Linked DNA regions of Homo sapiens: regions 1, 2, 3, 4, 5 and 7 are each linked to region 6. Evidence: promoter capture Hi-C in human tissues and cell types (Jung and others, 2019). All regions are on one chromosome and are shown on one strand. Each heading gives the region's core, a stretch centred on a gene start or on the middle of the fragment in contact. The rest is flanking DNA. Distances are from core to core; before and after follow the strand shown. Region 1 overlaps LOC107985173 (a long non-coding RNA gene). Region 2 has its middle 150 kb from the start of PIEZO2. Region 3 overlaps PIEZO2 (piezo type mechanosensitive ion channel component 2). Region 4 overlaps PIEZO2 (piezo type mechanosensitive ion channel component 2). Region 5 has its middle 130 kb from the start of PIEZO2. Region 6 holds the start of PIEZO2 (piezo type mechanosensitive ion channel component 2). Region 7 overlaps LOC107985173 (a long non-coding RNA gene).

The links. The method cuts DNA at HindIII sites, captures the fragments that hold promoters and counts their contacts. A contact is called where the count stands out against the background at its distance.
Region 1: a fragment that was not itself captured here is called in contact with the fragment with the promoter of PIEZO2 in region 6 in 3 of the 25 tissues and cell types used here (mesendoderm cells, spleen and thymus).
Region 2: a fragment that was not itself captured here is called in contact with the fragment with the promoter of PIEZO2 in region 6 in 2 of the 25 tissues and cell types used here (IMR-90 fibroblasts and aorta).
Region 3: a fragment that was not itself captured here is called in contact with the fragment with the promoter of PIEZO2 in region 6 in 2 of the 25 tissues and cell types used here (mesenchymal stem cells and neural progenitor cells).
Region 4: a fragment that was not itself captured here is called in contact with the fragment with the promoter of PIEZO2 in region 6 in 4 of the 25 tissues and cell types used here (bladder, liver, lymphoblastoid cells and 1 more).
Region 5: a fragment that was not itself captured here is called in contact with the fragment with the promoter of PIEZO2 in region 6 in 2 of the 25 tissues and cell types used here (H1 embryonic stem cells and aorta).
Region 7: a contact is called between a fragment that was not itself captured here and the fragment with the promoter of PIEZO2 in region 6, in 2 of the 25 tissues and cell types used here (H1 embryonic stem cells and lymphoblastoid cells).

The regions. Positions count from the first base shown.
Region 1 is chr18:11,384,300-11,386,999 of GRCh38, reverse strand. The region is part of intron 1 of LOC107985173 (a long non-coding RNA gene); the gene reads left to right. All of the region lies in intron 1 of LOC124904250 (a long non-coding RNA gene), which reads left to right. Among named protein-coding and RNA genes, the nearest start is that of LINC01928, 69 kb to the left of the region's middle. The HindIII fragment of the contact is 8,830 bases long and covers 1-2,700 here.
Region 2 is chr18:11,296,001-11,298,700 of GRCh38, reverse strand. No RefSeq gene overlaps it. Among named protein-coding and RNA genes, the nearest start is that of PIEZO2, 150 kb to the right of the region's middle. The HindIII fragment of the contact is 3,450 bases long and covers 1-2,700 here.
Region 3 is chr18:10,973,669-10,976,368 of GRCh38, reverse strand. All of the region lies in intron 3 of PIEZO2 (piezo type mechanosensitive ion channel component 2), which reads left to right. Among named protein-coding and RNA genes, the nearest start is that of PIEZO2, 170 kb to the left of the region's middle. The HindIII fragment of the contact is 6,453 bases long and covers 1-2,700 here.
Region 4 is chr18:10,997,515-11,000,214 of GRCh38, reverse strand. The region is part of intron 2 of PIEZO2 (piezo type mechanosensitive ion channel component 2); the gene reads left to right. Among named protein-coding and RNA genes, the nearest start is that of PIEZO2, 150 kb to the left of the region's middle. The HindIII fragment of the contact is 4,541 bases long and covers 1-2,700 here.
Region 5 is chr18:11,279,182-11,281,881 of GRCh38, reverse strand. No RefSeq gene overlaps it. Among named protein-coding and RNA genes, the nearest start is that of PIEZO2, 130 kb to the right of the region's middle. The HindIII fragment of the contact is 6,382 bases long and covers 1-2,700 here.
Region 6 is chr18:11,148,189-11,150,888 of GRCh38, reverse strand. It overlaps PIEZO2 (piezo type mechanosensitive ion channel component 2), which reads left to right and starts at 1,320. Exons shown (of 56, transcript NM_001378183.1): 1 at 1,320-2,364. The coding sequence starts at 2,301. LOC124904249 (a long non-coding RNA gene) reads left to right here and starts at 2,373. Exons shown (of 2, transcript XR_007066288.1): 1 at 2,373-2,700. RefSeq lists silencers at 968-1,417, 1,658-1,937, 1,958-2,137, 2,148-2,217 and an enhancer at 1,911-2,700. The HindIII fragment of the contact is 6,242 bases long and covers 1-2,700 here.
Region 7 is chr18:11,364,749-11,367,448 of GRCh38, reverse strand. LOC107985173 (a long non-coding RNA gene) reads left to right here. Exons shown (of 3, transcript XR_007066289.1): 3 at 2-344. Among named protein-coding and RNA genes, the nearest start is that of LINC01928, 88 kb to the left of the region's middle. The HindIII fragment of the contact is 7,204 bases long and covers 1-2,700 here.

The sequences.
Region 1 (2,700 bases), core at 201-2,700, 240 kb before region 6:
TTTGCTTATCCATCTGTTGATGGACATTGTATTAGTTTTTTAGCAAAACTAACAAAATGTCACCGAGTGCTTTAAAAAACAGACGTTTATTTTTCACAGTTCGAGAGGCTAGAAGTCTGAGATTAGCAGGTGTTGGCAGGTTTGGTTTCTCCCGAGGCCGCTCTCCTCGGCTTTCAGACGTCTTTGCATGGTCTTTTCTCTGTGTGTGCATCGCTGATGTCTCTTCGTGTATCCAAATGTCCTCTTCTGGAGGAGGAACCAGCCTAATAGCTTCATTTTAACTTAATCACCCTTTTAAAGGCCCTATTTCCAAATAGGCACATTCTGAGGGATTGGGGTCCAGAGCTTCAATATACACACTTTGGGTAGATACAGTTCAGCCCTTGACAGACATTTGGGTTGTTTCCAGTGTTTGCTTATTACAAATAAAGTTTCTATAATTATATCTGTAAAAGTGTATATGTGGACATATGCTTACATTCCTCTTGCATAAGTATCTAGGAGTGAAATTGCTGCATCTAATGGTAGTTTGTTTATTTATTTATTTGAGACAGAGTCTTGCTCTTGTTGCCCAGGCTGGAGTGCAGTGGCTCTATCTCAGCTCACTGCAACCCCTGCCCCCTGTCCAAGCAATTCTCCTGCCTCAGCCTCCTGAGTATTTGGGATTATAAGTGCCTGCCACCGCACCCGGCTAATATTTGTATTTTTAGTAGAGATGGCGGTCTCACCAGGTTGGCCAGGCTGGTCTCGAACTCCTGACCTCAAGTGATCCACCCACCTCAGCCTCCCAAAGTGCTGGGATTACAGGCATGAGCCACCATGCCCAGCCAGTTTATGTTTTATTTTTATAAAACTGTCAAACCTTTTCAAAACAGTCCTTCCATTTTTGATTTTCATCAACACTGTGTGACCATTCCAGTTATCTTGACAACATTTGGCATTATCGGCCTTTAAAAATGTTAGACCTCCTGGTGTAGTGGTCCCTTCTTTATAGTTCTGCTGTGCACATCTGTGATAACTAATGATGTTGAGCATCTTTGTACATGTTGTGTGCCATATTTATATAATATTTTGATTAAGTATCTGCTAAAATATATATTTTTAATTGGATTTTACCATTTAAAAAGTTATTTGTATATTCTTTGTGTATTCCCAGATAGAAGTACTTAGTCATACTTAGCATATATTTCCCACAGTGTGTGGCTTACCTTTTCATTTTCTAAAGTGTCTTTTGAAGAGAAAGTTTTTTTAGTCTTGATGAAATTTATCAGTCCTTTTCTCTTAAAATTCATGCCTTGTTATTTTGCTTGCCACTCATCGAGGTTCTTGGTTCTGGAAGCTTATAATTTTCATTACATTTGGATAATTTTTAACCATCAGATTTTCAAGTGTGTTTTTATGCTCCATCTGGCACTCCAGTTACAGATATAGCATACCTTTTTACATTGTCCCTTTTTCTCTAGCTCCCTTGTGTTTATTTCTGATCATGTGTATTGCTGCGTTTTCTAATGTATTGCTCTTTCATTATACAATGTCTAATCTGCTGATAGTCCTGTCAAATGTATTTTTCTGCAGATGTTCAACCTGGGCTTTAAAATATCTTTTGTGTCCCTCCTTCACATGTTCATGCCTTCCTACACCTTCTTGAACATACAGAAGAAAGGCATAGTGACTGGAAATGTCCTTGTCTACAAATATTGTTATCGTTATCATTTCTGGGTCTATTTCTATTGGCTAATAATTTTCTTTATTATGGGTTATTTCCTGATGCTTTGCAGAACTGGTAATTTTTGACTGAATGCCCAACATTGTGATTTTATGTTGCCAATTCTGGGAATTTTTTTATTCTTATAAATATATATGAGTTACTTTCTAGAGCACAGTTACGTTCCGTGGAAACAGTCTGATTATTTTACAGTTTGCTCTTAAACTTTCTTAGGCAATAGCAGTACAGCCTGTAATGGAAGACTAATTCGGTGGCACTGCCAAGGTGAGGTCCTTCTAAGTCCTCTTCCTTTCACTCTGTGCACTGTGAGGTCTGTACCAATCTGGCTGTTGGGAGCAAACGGTCCTCCTGGCCACGTGTGAGATCCAGGAATTATTTCATTTTGCCTTTGCAATGCGTCTTCCCCAGGCTGTGGGTAGTGTTCTTTATAGCTGAAAGTTATTGATGCCCTCTATTACTTCATTGTTTTCCAAAGTGGAATTTTGTTTTGTTTTGTTTTTGTTTTATTTTATTCCAAAGTCCTGGGATTACAGGCGTGAGCCACCGCGCCCAGCCATATTATCATTATTTTTTATTTTATTTATTTATTTTTTTGTAGATGGAGTCTTGCTCTGTCGCCCAGGCTGGAATGCAGTAGCGCAATCTCGGCTCACTGCAAGCTCCGCCTCCCGGGTTCACACCATTCTCCTGCCTCAGCCTCCCGAGTAGCTGGGACTACAGGCGCCTGCCACCACGCCCAGCTAATTTGTTGTATTTTTTAGTAGAGATGGGGTTTCACTGCGTTAGCCAGGATGGTCTCAATCTCCTGACCTTGTGATCCACCCACCTTGGCCTCCCAAAGTGCTGGGATTACAGGTGTGAGCCACCACGCCTGGCCCAGATTATTTTTTTAAAAAGCAAGTAGTAGACATCCAACAGGAAAGCAGTTGAAAAATTTCAAAAGTTCCGAACTTTAATCAGAAACTTTTCAACTC
Region 2 (2,700 bases), core at 160-2,659, 150 kb before region 6:
CTGAATAAAATCTAACTGCCATCCATAAGAATGATACGTTGGACTTTGGGGAAAGGGTGGGGGTGATTAGGGGTAAAAGACTACACATTGGGTACAGTGTACACTGCTTGGGTGATGATAGATGCACCAAAATCTCAGAAATCAGCACTAAAGAACATATTCATGTAATCAAACACCACCTGTTCCCCAAAAACCTATTAGGAAAAATTAAAAAGTTTTTTAAAAAATGTAACTGCCATGCTTCAAAACACCATCAGGTAAAGCAAAATGTCCTTAGGAGCCATGTAAAGGTTTTCCTGGATTATCTTTTCGGCAGATATGGCAGCAATTGTATACCTTATGAACTATAGTTGGAGAAAAACATTTTCTCAAGCAACTATTTTTTCAGGGCTCCAATGAGTTAAATCATGTACATAGGTTAAAAATGATGATCTCCAGTAGGAAGTATAGATAAGTTGTTTGGTCCATACCATACTTCATCTTTGGGAGAATATGTTCCTCCTTTTGTCTTCTAATTTTCTGTTTGGATTTTGGAGCTCTGGATTGAGCTAATTTTATTCCAAATTCAGGTGCTTCTTTGAGACTTAATGTAGATTCCTTTTCTTGTTCAGATACGTTTAGAGCAGCCATTTTTGCTACCTTATCAGCTAACTTGTTTCTTTTATTTTCTGCAGTATCTGATTTGGAATGACTCGGAATTTTAATAATGGCCAGTGAATTTTAATATGGCTTCTAGTGATGGTGAAATAAGGTGTTCATTTTTTATGGACTGACCACAAGAAGTTAAAAAAAACCTCTTCGTTTCCATAGCATTCCAAAATCATGAGCTCCTCTGAAAGCATATCTGCCATCTATATGAATATTTGTAGTTGCCAACTGGTAGGCTCTGATTAATGTTATCAATTCTGCTTGATAAGCTGAGGTGGCTTCTGGAAGGTAAGCACTTTCTTTAGTTAAAGATAATATAGCATAATCCGAAAAGTAAGTCCCAGGTTCATCTTTTAAGTAAGAGTAAGGCAAGCTTCTTGTAGGTCTGTTCTAGGAGAGAGAACCTGGTGAGTTGAGATTATGCAATTGTGTGGTATCTCATCTGAAGGCAGAGACAGAGGAGCAGGGGGTTTAGATTTTTGCACCTAGATATTGTAATATGAGCTACAGAAAGAAAAAGAACTTCCTAAGAAGCTAATCTGCTGACAGAATAATGTTGAGTGTGCTATGAATTTAGAAATACTTGCAAAGAATTTGGCATGAAAACCAAGAGGGGAGATCCATCACTCTTTCTTCGGTTGCTCTTACTAACAGAGCAGTGGCAGTTATTGCCTTCATGCAAGGTGGCAATCCTTTAGCCACAAGGTGTAGTTGCTGACTAGTATCCTACAGGCCTATTTTGGTCTCCATGTTTTTGTTTCAGAATGTTTAAGGCGTTTCCTTGATTTTCATGAACAAACAATGAAAATGGAATATTATAATTTGGATATCCCAAAGATGCAGCATCTATAAAGTTCTTTTTAAATTTCTTCCAATATTGACTGATTTTCCTCTGTCCATTCCAAGGGGCCTGGCTTGTCTTGTTTTATAAAAGTATAGAAAGTTTTAGTTTAAAAAAAAGTTTGGAATCCAATTTCAACAGTATTCTGCCAGTCCCCCAAATCCTCTGAGTTGTTTCTTACTTTTGGGAGTAAGGAATGCCAAGATTTCTTTTATCCTATCCAGGTGGATAAAAATATCTTCCTTTGATGTTAGATTACTCAAAAATCTTACTTGTTTTTGACAAAAGTGAATGTTTTTTTTTTTGAGACCTTGTGTTTCTTTAAGGCTAATTGTAGTAATAAGTTAATCCCATCTTCCATGGAGGCTTGCCTACCCTCTGAACAGACAAGCAAATTATCTACACATTGCATTAAAATATATTTCTTAATATAGTCAATATCTGAGAGATCTGCTTTTAATATTTGTGTAAAGTAAGTTGAGCTCTCAGTGTATCCCTGAGGCATGACTGTCCATACGTATTGTCTGTCTTCCTAAGTGAAGGTGAAGATAAATTGAATGTCTTGATCCACGTAAATACTAAAGAATGCACTACATAGGCCTATTATAGTAAAGAACTCACTTTTGGTAAGGATGGTAATCAAAGTTATATGGAGGTTTGGCACTACTAGATGATGAGAAATGTCCATGTTGTTAATTTCTCTCAGATCCTCTACAAACATCTATTCTCTATCACTTGGTTTTCTTATGGGAAAGATTGCAGTATTACATGGGCTTGTACAGGGAATAATCAGATCTCTTTTTACATAGTCTAGAATTATAGACTTAGTCTATAATAATTACATTCTAATTATAGGTCTTATTCTTTCTAAAGCTTCTGGTTTTAGAGTCTTGTTTAAGGTTTGGAAGGGGTTTTAATGAGTCTATTTGAATTTTGATTGAGGTAAGTTAGATAGTTTTTCCAATATCTGTGGAAGACTTTGACCACAGTTGATCAGGTTCTGTCTTTAGCAGTTTTTGTAATTCTTCATCATTCAATAATTAAATGTCCTCTATGGCAATATAAATTGCAATTTTTGAATTAAGAGGATCAGATTCTGAAAAATTTATTGTATCTAATAATTCCATTTTGTCTTCTAATTCTCAGCACATTTTCCCCTTTTGGGAAAAGAATAAATTTTTTCCTATCTAATGGATTGAAGCTGAGGGAAA
Region 3 (2,700 bases), core at 141-2,640, 170 kb after region 6:
AATTTCTTCTGAAAAACTAGTGATGCCTGTAATCGCATTGGCTCATCAGGTGTTGTAGATTTTTTTGGTTTAGTTTTATGTGTAGCATTTAAAATTAATACATTCTTGAAAAAGGATAAAAGAGAAGAACAAACAAACTTCAGAGCTTTGCAAACTAATTTAGTCCAAGATTGACACAGACCAGGTTTTCAGCCCAGAGCACTTTTTAATGATCAAGTTATATAAACTGAAAATACTGTTAGTGTGGGTAATGGAAACACTGACTTTTAATTTAGAGTTGACTTCACTTCACTAATGTTATTGTTTCTCAAGCATTTAGAGTTATGATTATACCATCAGAGATGTAAACACAACTCAGTCATTTCGATATCCCAAATTTGAAGTTTATCCTTTTTTGGCATCTGCATAGATAACATAGCAAAAGTTCAAATAAAAAGACAAAACCTGTCTTGGTCATCAGTGTTGTACATTTTGAATGTTTTTTGTATGTTCAAGACATTGGTAAATTAAAATTAAAACCCAGACAAGTCGATCATATTCAAGTAGTATTCAAATTCAAGACCACCAAGCGCTCATTTATAGGTGTTAAATTTTGTTTTCCTAACAACTTCTTTCCCCCATTTAAAATGCATACCCTCACCCTCATTATCGCAAAAGGTCCCGGCATCTCTTAGGAATCTGACATAAGTTTTGGTGGGACAACAGTAGCATTTATAAATATTGAGTCATTGAAAGTTCTCGTTCCTCCAGAGTCCTGTGAATATTAACTGGCAGTAATAAAGATTTTTTCAAACCACCCTATTTAGATTTTGACTAGTTGGCAGGTCTGTTAAAGGTGCCGTTGTGCAGAGCTGAAACTTAACAACACTCCCTTCTGCCTTTTTTTTTTCCCCTCATTTCCAGAACAGTGTTCTTATAGGTAAGTGAGGAGTCCATGGGGGCAGGGGACACCTATGTAAATTTTGCTCAAACATATGTTGTGCCGCTTACTAAAATATTTTCATTCCACCAAAACTATGCTACTTAAATAAATGTAAACCCGGTTTCAATTATGTCATTACAGATTACATAGACGTAGTTTGTTTGACTCCGTGTTAGATGTGTGGCGATGTTAGTGAAATTTGAAGGCCAGTCTGGATTCTTGTGCTGTGCTTAAAGCATGCTATTCATTGAAAGAAACTTTTGAGTTAGAAACTATATAGGGAAAATTTGTGATGATAATATCTCCTGTTTATAGAGCATCTATGAACCATGAGACCCTAGGGATTATTCTATTCCTTTTTCAATTAATGACTCCTTCCTTTCTTGTTCCAGGTGAGCTTTGCTGTTCTTTAAGTTAGGCACTCTCTGTATCCAAGCATTGTCCTATTCATTCTCTAAACAAGTCCTCAGGGTGGACAGGGCTGTGCAGCTGGACCCCTGTGCTCTGTGTGCAGGCCCCAGCCTGAGGAGGAGCTGAGCAGGAGATTCCTTCGTCAGGCTCCATCCAGCGGGAAGCAGCGAAATCCTCTGATTTACATCAAGAGGCTGGTCTCCTGGCCAAACCTTGCCACGGAGGGCTATGCCTTTGTGTAGTCTCTTTTCTCCAAGAGGGTGCCCTTTTTCTGTATAAACGCAGTGCCCAACCTGCAGATAGTGCTGAGGTAGGGATTGCAATGAAGAAACGGGCTCTAGAGGGCAAATGAGTTGCATGAAACCATTGCATGTCTCAGCTGGAGTCTGAGCACGGATCTGTCTGGCTTTCCATTCTTCCCCCATCTTTACGGAGCTCTTTATTCATCGTGTGTGTAAGATTGTTTCCTCCACTGTGGCTCCTAGGACTTTGGATAAGTCTATTTTCAAAGGGCTAAAATTAGCGTTTCTGATACTTAGTCCATGACTTTCCCTTGCTTGGATATTTGTCCTTATAATTAACTGAATATTTTCTTTGCTTCCTTCAATGGCAGCATTCCTGGTTGGATTCAGCTTCCCCCAAAGGTTAGCCCCCTCAGATGCATTGCTCTTTCCCCCTGTGGGAGGAGGGGCATCTAGAGTTTCATCTTTTCTCTTTTTACAAGCACATGAAACTTGGTCCAGAAGCCCACCAACCAAGAAATTAGGATGGGCCTCAGTAATGTTTTTTCCTGACATGCTTCTATCCTTGAAACACACAAGGCTCCCAGTGCCAAGAATCAAGGTATCAAGCGTCGGCCTACGACAAGAAGACTGAGGGACAGACCCAGCCTGGCAGTTTATCCTCCCATCCCGACGACTGTGGGGAGGACTACAGAGTGAGCCACTGCTGTGTATACTCTGCTTGCCAGTACAAGTGCTGACTCATCCCTTGGCACACAAAGCTGTAAACTTCACCCCATGCTTCGTTAGTTGTGCTAATTGGAGATGGACCCTAGATCTGCAGAATCACCTGGTGGATCCATCCTCATACAAATAATTCCATTCTCACACAAATGAAATTCTTGATGTTAATTTTTCATATTTGAGACAGTACCCTGGAGAAAAGAGCTAATAAGTACGAAATGGGAGACAAAATATATAAAAGCAAACTCACACCCTGCATGTTCTGAGTCATTTTTTGAAACCACTCTTGGCTGCCTGCTTTCTTCTGATAGCTGATCAGTGAGGAGGCTTGGGTTCCTCACCTTGCCCCGTCCCCTTCTCTTTCCATTCCCTAACTCATTCAGGCACAACACACAGCCTTCT
Region 4 (2,700 bases), core at 193-2,692, 150 kb after region 6:
TGGAAACTTTCAGTCCAGTATATGAAGGTGGAAGGAACTCGAGGGGAAATGATGCTATCATTCATTCTTCCATTTGCTTTTGTGATGTTCCCAGAGTGCTTCCCTGTGATTCACTCCTTTTAGCAAAATTGGGTTTTGAAGAGTGCTTGAATGAGATTTCCAATGGAATAGAAAGTAGACATGTGTTCCTTCTCTTCATTTGTATTAGTTTGATACCAGTGAAATGGCCATTTTTATAAGTCAACATGGTTAGGTATTAGCAACTTCATGTACTTAACCTACAAGGTTGACTTCTGAGTTTATTTCGAAGTCCCAGCACATTCTTCCCAGCTCATAGGTGTTTGTATTTAATCTCATTTAGAATTTAGAAGAAAATTCCCAGTTTTATGTATCAATTTGCTTTTTATTTGTTCCACCTGGAGCATAAAATTGTGGGAAATTCTTTAAATATAAATACTTGCTTTCTAAGACAATTTTTCTAAATTTTTTCTAATGTAGTCCAAGTGCATGAACTGCAGAGTACAGTTGTCTCTTAGTATTCATGGGTGATTGCTTCCAGTATCCCCCAAGATGCTGAAATCCTTGGGTGCTCAAGTGTCTTATATAAAATGGCATAATATTTGCTTATAACCCATGCTCGTTCTCCCATATGTTTTAAATAATCTCTAGATTATTTATATTACAAAAAACTATATAAATACAATGCAAATGGTTGTCATACTATCTCTTTTAGAGAATAAGGACAAGAAAAGAAAAGGTCTGTGAATGTTCAGCACAGACTAAAACATCTTTCTAAAAAATATATTTTTCATCCATGGTTGGTTGAATCTACTGGATATGGAGTCCACAGATATGGAGGACCAACTGTGCTTTTACTAGGTTTTTCTAATTGAGCTGTAAATAAAAGATCAAAATATCAACTTGGAGGTGAGCTGAAGAAGACTTTGAAATACAGAACTCTTCAAACTCTACGCAGATTTGGTATCCAATACATTAACTTATCTATAAACTGATTTTTTTTTTTTTTTTTGCTGTTGCCTTTCCACTGAGGAGGCTCAGAGTTCTCCTTTAAAAATTTCTGACATTTTTTGGCGTGGATTGTTTCTTAAGTGGAAAATTTCAAACTTAGTTTACAAAAATTGGCACACTCCAAAGAACCATGGATCCTCCACATTTGCATGCCACATTTAAATCATTGAAAGCTACAGAATGGGAAATGTTGGCTAAGGAAATAGCCTCTGAATTACTTTCAGAAGTAGAGTAAATGAGGCATTAGATTTAAATGTTTGTTTAAATCCCAGTTCCTGACTGGAATCTACGCAGTGACAATCTTTCTTTTTTTTTTTTTTTTTTGCTGTATTTGAGAAAATATATCAGAAATAAATAAAATGTATGAATAAAACATGCTAAAATTTGTTTAAAAACTCTACTTCCTTTCCTTATTGTTAATTTTCTCAGTTAATATTAACATCAAATTTATTCTGTTGGCATTCTAATAATCACAGAAAAAATAGTATATAAGTGTATAGTTTGGTATTATGCCATTATAGCCATAGATTACTTATTTTGCAAATCTATTGTCTGGGTTACTTTTGGAAATAATTTTGGAGTTAGCATGAGTTATGAGTGGATATTTATTAGGTGACACATCTTTGAATTATTCAGATTTAAATATACTCATATTTCTTATATAAATGAAGGTGCCTAGTTAAAACACGTGGGCAACATAATACCCTCAATTATTTCTGTACACACCAAGTATTTCCAAATCCAAAAAAGAGAGATTTTTTTCTAGAAATTCCATGAATTAACTGGAGCAAGACTGTAATTAAGGAGTGTGTGTGTGTGTGTGTGTGTATGTGTATGTGTGTGTGTGTAAACAAATATCTTTTTAATCCATTTCTGTTGCTCTTCTTCATTTCATGAATTCCACGTGTTTTTTTGGTACCATTTCCCTTCAGGCTGAAGAACTTACATTAGCATTGCTTTGATAGCAGGTTAATTTTCCTTCCTCTGAGGATATTTTCTTTTTGCCTCATTCCTGAAGGACAGTTTCACAGGGTATAAAATTCTAAGTTTATAATTCTTTTCTTTTGCAGATTTAAAGATATTGTTCCACTGTATGCTAGTCTTCATAGTTTGTGATGAAAAATATGTGGTCTTTAAATTGTTTTCTCCCTACACATAATGTGACATTTTTCTCTGTTTTCATTCTTTAGTTATATTAGTTTTTCAACAGGTTAGTTATGTATCTGGGAGTGGTTTCTTTGAGCTCATCCTACTTAGGATTTGCTGAGCTTATTGAATGTGTACATTATGTCTTCACCAAATTTCTGGAATGTTAAAATACTGTATTATCCAAATTTTTTTCTGAACCAATCTTTCTGCTCTCCTTTGATAACTCTAATGATGCAAATGATAGACCTTTTTATTTTGTCCCTTAAGTCTCTGAGGTTTTATTAACTTTTTTCAATCTTTTGCTCTCTGTTCTTCAGATGGGGTAATTTCTATTAATTTCTTCATCATTACTAACTCATTTTTTGTCATTACCACTCTGCTCTTGAGACCATTAGGTGAATGTTTAATTTCAGATACAGTGTTGTATTTTTTCTGTTGTTAATATTTTTATTTGATTAATTTTTGTAGTTTGTATTTCTCTGCTGATAATGTTTATCTTTATATTTATTTCAACATGGTTTA
Region 5 (2,700 bases), core at 144-2,643, 130 kb before region 6:
CATTGCCTGGGTGGCTTATAAATAGCACAAATTCATTTCTGACAGTTCTGGAGGCTGGAAGTCTGAGACCAGAGTACCTGCATGGTGGGTTCTGTGTGGCCCTTTTCCGAGTTGCAGGTGGCTGCCCTGTCCCAGTGTCCTCACATGGTGGAGAGCGGAGTGAAGCAAGCTCTCTCAGGATGCTTATAAGGGCACTGATCCCATTCATGGGGGCTCAGCTCACATGACCTCAGCTAATCCTAATCACCTTCCAAAGACCTCACCTCCAGAAGGTGTAGGGTTTCAATGTATAGATGTTGCAGTCACGAACATTCAGCCAATAGCAGCAATGTTCTATTTCATGTCAGAATTGGATGCTTAAGAGATGAAGCAGGGCGCTGAGAGGTACTAGAAGAAAGATCCCACCTTTGGGATGGGAGTTAATGGGACCTTGTCCAGAAAACCAGCAGCTTTGGAAATTCTTCCCCGAGTCTCCAAAGCTGAGTCTGGCTTCTCCCCTTGGGTCCCCCAACACCCTCTGACCACCTCTATCAGAGCATGTGTCTCCCTCCATCAGAACTGTTTACTTAGCTCTCCTCAGTTGCACTGTTGGTTCCTCGAGGAAGGGAAAGGATTTTGCCTGTTCATTTTAGTATCCCCAGCACCTCACCTAAGGAAAAAAATTAACAGGTTACTGCTGAGGGAGTGAGTGAATGGAATAAAGCAATCAATCAAAACTTCTCTCAGCTGACTGTACCGGTTCAGGACCCAGATTCACCCCAGCTGGGGAGATGGGCCAGGAAGGAATTTGGGTGGGCTGGCTATTAGGGTACACATTAGGAATTAGAGGCCTCAGCCTGCTGTTCAGGCAGGAATCCCACAGGAATATGGACCACGTGAGAACCACATCTCACCAAGTGTGTGAGAGTGTTTGCAAGGAGGGGGAGCTCAAAGATAGCTGCATTGTTCTGGGGTGACCAGAGATCCTCCTCAATACCCTCACCCATCCTTCCCTCTATGTAAGACCCCGCACTTCCTCTGCAGATGCAGTTTTAAGACCTCTTTCCTAAAATTGCTCCCACCCTCTGGAAGGCCACTCCTAAGTCACTCCCACAAGGGAAGTGTCCAGCACCACTGGGGACTGGGAATGTGCTGGTATCAAGGGTGTGGAGGCAAGGATGATGGAGTAGGTAGAGGGTGAAGAGGACCGTCTGCAAATCCACCTGAAGGCTGCAGGAATGGGGGAAAGCCAGGAACCGAAAGGGCCCAAGCCTCAAGGCTTTTCATACTCAAGAAAGTCAGGCAGAAAGCATCTGCGTGGGGGTGGGGAAGCAGCCATGAGAGTGGCCAGGGGCGACTGAGACCCTGCTCACTGGCCCCCACCCTGCTCTTCCATCACGGCGACCCTGGAACAGAGTCGCAGGGCAGCTGAAACGTTGCTGTGACAGTCATAGAGAGGAGCATGGATGCCTTTATTTTCATTAAGTTCTGTGCTTCTTCTTTATAGCTGACTTCCCCCAAAACAGCACATGAATAAAGAAAGTGCCCAGTGCAGCCAATTATACACGTCTCTCTCACTAGATTCTGCCAGTTTGGTTTTCCTGGACATTAAGAAAAGCTAAGAAATCTGGATGGTAGCTTTCCCAAGATAGCACAGCCCTTCTGATATAGTTTGGATATTTGTCCCCACCCAAATCTCATGTTGAATTGTGATCCCCAGTGCTGGAGGTAGGGCTTGGTGGGAGGTGTTTGGATCATGGGGCAGATCCCTCATGGCTTGGTGCTGTCTTCACGACAGTGAGTGCCTTCTCACCAGATCTGGTCATTTAAAAGTGTGTGGTGCCTCCCTCCCAGTCTCTCACTTGCTTCTGCTTTCATCATGTAACACGCCTGCTCCCGCTTCATCTTCCGCCATGATTGCAAGCTTCCTGAGGCCTCCCTAGAAACCAGGCAGATGCCAATGTCACGCTTCCTGTAAAATCTGAAAAGCCATGAGCCAATTAAACCTCTTTTCTTTATAAATTACCCAGTCTCAGGTGTTTCTTTCCAGCAATGTAAGAATGGCCTAATCAGAGCATCTCCCTCCCTGTCTTCGTACAATTAATGGAGTTCTGCCTACAAGATGCTTCAATAAGAGACTTGGCCCCAGTTCCAGGAGAGGAAAGCCCAAGCCTCTCAGCTGCTGCAGAGATGTGGGCTGTATGCCAAGGAAGCTTGACCTGACCTTGGTTCCTGGAAGGCATTGGCAGTCAAGTGGAGCTGATGATGCCTGCACTCTGCGGTCCAAGGGTCTGTGGGCTGCTTAACCGCAGGAGGTCACAGGGGCCAAGAAGAGAGAGAAAATGAGCTGGGAGTTACTATGCAGGTAAGGAGTCTGCATGCTGGCTAAAGTATTCAAAGAGAATTATGGGCACAGATATTGCCCAAGGAGTCCAGCACACCAAAGTGAGGAAGGAAGGGATCTCCTTTTGAGAGCTTTTTATTTTGTCATTCATAGAGGGCATGATGACTCTTTCTGAAATTTTTGCTCAAGGGCCAAGAATTAGAACGTGCACCACTGTGAGCAGGTGGCTCTGAGATAACATTCATTGAAAGGCAACATTCCTGGGAATAATCAGATTAACTTGGGGTACCAGGCACAGTACCACATAACAACATTATTAAGAAAAAAATGTAGCTTGACTTTTGCCTCCCCAGTTGTTCAAAGCTTTCTTCTATCTG
Region 6 (2,700 bases), core at 71-2,570:
CAGGCTACACAAACCATTTCTTGATAGCATTTCTTGGTGACTGGATGCTAATTTAAGTTCTATCGTCTCCTGTAGGTCTGCTGTTGAGCTCATGACTACGCCCGGGTTTAGGTGCTATCTAAGCTTCTTGAGGATGGCAGAGCACATGGGTGGTTTAAGTTTCAGGGTGTCTTCACCATATGCCAACTGTCTTGAGTCTTCATTCAAAAAGCAATGGTTCATAGTTTTTCTGTAATTCTCAGAGAATTCGTGAAGGCACCTGAGCTCAAACCACAAGCTTACCCTGTCTCAAAAAAGGGATGTCCACAAAAGCGTTTCAAATGGCTAAAAAGACGGGGGTTTGCCTGTTTTTCATCAGCTCACTGCTCTATCCCCTCCAACTAATGCAAGCCAGGAATGTAGGTGCGGAAGGGAAGCCAGGTCCTTCCCAGTGTGTCCTCCTGATGGAATGCCAGTCCTGAACAGTCCTCTCTACAGATGCTAACAGCCTCTTCCTCCATGTCCGGAAAGACCCCTACTGTGCTCTAGCAAATCTCCTCCACTCTCGGATAACAGTTAAATAAAAGACCCAGGCACACTGCAGTCTCCCAGCTAGAGCCAGATTTCTCTAGATCTTGCCTAGAACAGGCAAAAAGCAGTGCACTAGGAGAAAGGGAGAATATTCTCAGTGCCAACGCTCTCTTTCCCCAGAGCCACGACAAGCAAGGAGCAAAACTGAGGTGAAAACGGAGAGTTCCCCCAAATGCACAAAGTGGGTGCATTATCTGTTGGGGAAGACCCGGGATTTCCCAGAGTCTATTCAGAATGGCAAGTTCTTGCTATGTGAAATATGGGCAGGGTCAACGGTGTAGATGAATTCAGCTCTATTCTTCTTAATGCCAGTGTGCACCTGTGGACCCAGCAGAAGTCGGGGTCGCACAGGACTCTCCAAGCCCCTGGCTTCTCTCCTGCCGGGCCTGTGCGTTTCCCTCGGACCTTAAACGGTTCCCTGGGTTTGGGCAAGCTCAGGGCCCGGCCGGGTGGACTGGATGCCAGGGTGCACCACCGGAATGACAGAACCACGCAGAGCCGCGGGGCTGCGGGAGCCAGTGGGGCAGGAGTGCCCGCGGAGGGCGAGCCAAGGCGCGCAGCCCACTGGCAGGCCAGGCCGGGTCTCTCCCAGGCGCGGGAGCCGCGGGTGGGGGCTTGCCCTCCGCGCCGGTGCAAGGCTCTCACTTCCCCAGCCGCTCAGGGGCGGGCTCCGCGCGCGCAGGCCCCGGAGCCGCCATCCCATTGGCCGGGGGACACGCCCGTCCCCGAGTGAGGGCTTCGAAAGTTTCATTGAAGGTGGAGAAGCGCGCGCCGCCGGGGAGCCCCGGCTGCGCCGCGAGGGCGAGGCTGCAAGGCGGCAGGCGGTGGTCGCGCTGGGCGACGGGACGGCGCTGGTTTTTCTCTTGAGTTTTAAATTGAGGCGGTGGAGGAGGGAGTGGGAGACCCACTCACCCGATATGCGCTCTGGTCTCCATTTCTCCCCACGCTCGCGCCGTTCCTTCGAGTGAGGGAGGGACTCGCAGCGCCGCCCGCGCACCGGACCCACAAGGCGAGCCCCGTGGTGGCGGGGATGGTTCTGCGCGCCTGGCAGCTCCCACCCCGGTCTCTCCGGCCCGAAGCTGGGGGGCGCAGGGGCTGAGCTGCGCTGCCTCTCGGGGATCCGCCGCGGGCCGCCTGGGGGCTGGAGGGCGAGACCCGGAGCCCGCCGGGCAGCTCCGAGAGCCGGGGCCGAGGCCAGAGCGCGGCAGCCTGCGTGGGCAGCGGAGACGAGGCCGGGCAAAGGAGACGCGGTGGCTTCAGAGGGGCTTCCAAGTAGAAAACTCCCCGGCCGCCCCCAAACGACGCCCCGGGAGCCAGGCGGGAGCACAGCACGCCCTTCTTGCCCCCTTTGCTCGCCGCGCCGCCTCCCAGGACCCTCCCAAAGCGTCCCTCTCCAAGGCCCCGGCATCAGCTACCCCTGAAGAAGCCGCCGCCGCTGCCGGATCCAGGATTCACACTAAATGGGCCGGCCGCAGGGGGCCGGGCGCCGGGCTAGGTGGCCGCCAAGAGCCTGGTGAGGGGCTACCCAGAGCCCGGTGGGCGAGGGGCGGCCAAGAGCCCCGGGAGCGTGCCCTCGGGGCGGAGAGCGTCGCGGCCCGCGCCGAGGCGATGCTCGGGTGGCTGCGAGCTGCCGGCGGCGAGAGGCCATAGACGGGCATGGGCCTTGCGTCCCACCACCCCTAGGGACCCTCGAGCCTCGCCCCTCTGCTCCGACTCGCCGGACCGACGCGATGGCCTCAGAAGTGGTGTGCGGGCTCATCTTCAGGCTGCTGCTGCCCATCTGCCTGGCAGTAGGTGAGTCTGGTCCGCTTTCCGAGGGCACTTGAGGAGGACGAGGGGGGCGCCTGGGTGGGGGACTTCTTAACAAAGTGAAGGGCTCTGGTGCTCTGGGGTTCGATTCGGGAGGCCAGCGGCGTCAGACGCGCGCTGTCCCTGGTGCACAGCCTGGCTCTCTCACTTCCCACTCTGGGGCGCGCGATCGGGGTATCTCTTAACAGGATGCTCGGGACGGGCATGTGCTGGAAACTGTTTATGTTGAATTTAGTTACACGTGGATTTTCTTTCGTGGAGTACTGACTTGTGTACTAAGGATGGCCATTGCTGTGGCTGGAAGGCGGATGCGTCCCCATC
Region 7 (2,700 bases), core at 128-2,627, 220 kb before region 6:
GGTTGATGCAGGAAACAGATGGAGGGGCAGAAGTTGATACTCATCTCATTAGATCCAAAGAAGCCAAATGGTGGCCATCACCTGTGACATGAAGAGGGTATATTTTATGGAACTGGACAGCTTTCAGAATCACAAGCAACCTCTTCAAAATGTGATCTACTGAAACGTGCTTGAAAGAGAGAATAGGAGTGAGGCGGGCAAAGGAAGCAGAAGCCATTGTGAACTGCCCTAGAGAAACCTTGGGCATCTTTTTGTTGGGCAAAGTGGTAGAGGCTGAAACGGGGAATAGCATGTAACATTTTATTTGACTGAAATAAACAGCTGTTTGTTTTTTTTTTCTTTCATATGTAAGATAGACAAAAGGTGTTTGACAGATAAGGATTGGGGCAATGTTGGTATGAGTTCAGCTTTTTAGTTTGTTCTTTAAAAGTGGCCATCAAGATGTGGGTGTAAGGTATTTCACAGTGATTTGCATTCATTCTCATTGCTGTCACCATCAAGGCCCAGTTACTCAATATCCAAGTTTGTTTTTGTTGTAATTCAAACAAAATAAATACAAGTAGCAGGGCTTTCCATCCTTCCTGGGAATATTGTGTGGGTGCATCTCAGTGAATGCCAACTGCTTTCAAATAAAATGTGCCATCTGAAGGAGCACAGTTTCCACTCCAGACCTGCATGTACAAGACGCAAAACAAGGCACTAGCTGGCTTAGGGGAGTCATGCCTGAGAGAACGAGTTGTATATAAAACTCTGCTGAGGCTGAAAATAGCACAGATATGAAAGACAGAAGCAAAAGATATCGGGTGTCCTAAAGTGCCAGATGCCCAGGTCACTTAAAAGTGGATGACTCAGAGTCACACAGAGTAGCAGCATGCTGGGATCTTTGAGGAAAGCTGACCAACCACAGAGAAGGAAAGGCAAAGTGATTCCGCAGAGAATTGAACCAAATACAAATTTGCCTTTGTTTTTCATCCCACAGAATTTCCTCTTCACCCATGAGGTTTATAGCTATTTTCACATGACCATCCACTGAAAGGAAAATAAATCTGATCCTGTCCCATCTACTCGAAATGCCTTGTCCTTAGGCCACTCAGCTTGATCCTCGTAATAAAATCACATAGAATGGAATACATTTTAAGGCAAAAATGTGTATGGCTAATTAGGATATTTATGTATTGATAAGATAAAGATAGATGAGATGCTGGGAGAATAAAATAATTATAAATCTTACAACATCATGTCAAAGTATATGGTATATGGTCAAAGTATATGGTATAAAACTACAAAACTGCTAGAAAAAAATTACAAAATTATGAGAGAACTTGCACCTCTTTCAATCATGGGTAGAAAAGGCAGCAAAAAAGTTAATGGGAATTTAGAAGATTTAGGCAACATAATAATGTTGATTTGGTACATGTATAAGCCTGAAACTAACAGATGATATAAAACCTTATGGATGCCACTGAACTGTGAAATGTACACATAAAAATGCTTAACATAGCACATTTTATTATATATATCTATATATTTTATCACTGTAGGGGATAAAAAAATATTTTTTTCTCAGTGATTGCTAGGTTTATGCCTGAGGCCTCCCTAATAACGGAAAGATTAACAAGAGATAAACACACAAATTTGTTTAATAAAAGTTTCATTGGATATAGGAACCTTCACAAGAAAATGAAGATCCAAAGAAACAGGTAAACCTGTATGCTTTTACAGGTTTACAGGGTGGCCGGCGCCTGCCCTCAGAATGTTTGGAAACTAAGAAACATACATAAAATAATTCAAAAAAAATTTAAAAAAAAAGGGAAAAAAGGAAAAAGAAATCACAAGAAATATTAGAAAATATTTAGAAGAAAATGTAAATTCCAAGGGAATATTTGTGAAATATACATAAATCATTCAATAGAGGGAATTTTATAGCCTTAAAATACATGCACGAAGAAATAAATCTTTCCTGGATTTCTTTTATTCCTGCAAAATTCTGGTTCCCTGAACCACTGAAATGGATATAATATGAAGCTAGAGAATGTTTTCCTTTCCCCCCAAATATTTTACTTTTTGCACGTCTTGAGTATTAAACTGCGGTTATTTGTCTTCTTTTAGTTGGAACTAATTCCCTTCCATCTAAAGGAAAACAAAAGTGTTTTTTTAATTAAAAAATTTTAATTTATTTTTCTTCTTTAATGGAGACTAAGTAGAAATCCAAGACAAAAGTTCTTCTATTTCCCTGAGTGGGAAGAAGTTTGCATGCCCGGGTGGGGCCTGGGAAACTGGAAAGACAGACTGAATAACCTTGAGATCACCTGAGGGATTTAGAGAGTTATCTTCATAGGTGTTTACATTTCAAGGAGGTGAAACTGGCCGGTCCCAGCACTTTGGATGGCTGAGGCGGGTGGATCACTTGAGGTCAGGAGTTCGAGACCAGCCTGGCCTACATGGTGAAACCCCTTCTCTACTAAAAATACAAAAAAATCAGCTGGGTGTGGTGGTGCGTGCCTGTAATCCTAGCTACTCGGGTGGCTGAGACAGGAGAATTGCTTGAACGTGGGAGGCGGAGGTTGCAGTGAGCCAAGATTGAGCCACTGAACTCCAGCCTAGGCAACAGGACAGAGCAAGATTGTCTCAAAAAAACAAAAAACAAAACTAAAGGGGTGAAACTGAATTGGAAGCACATTTTATCTTTCCCCTGGAGAC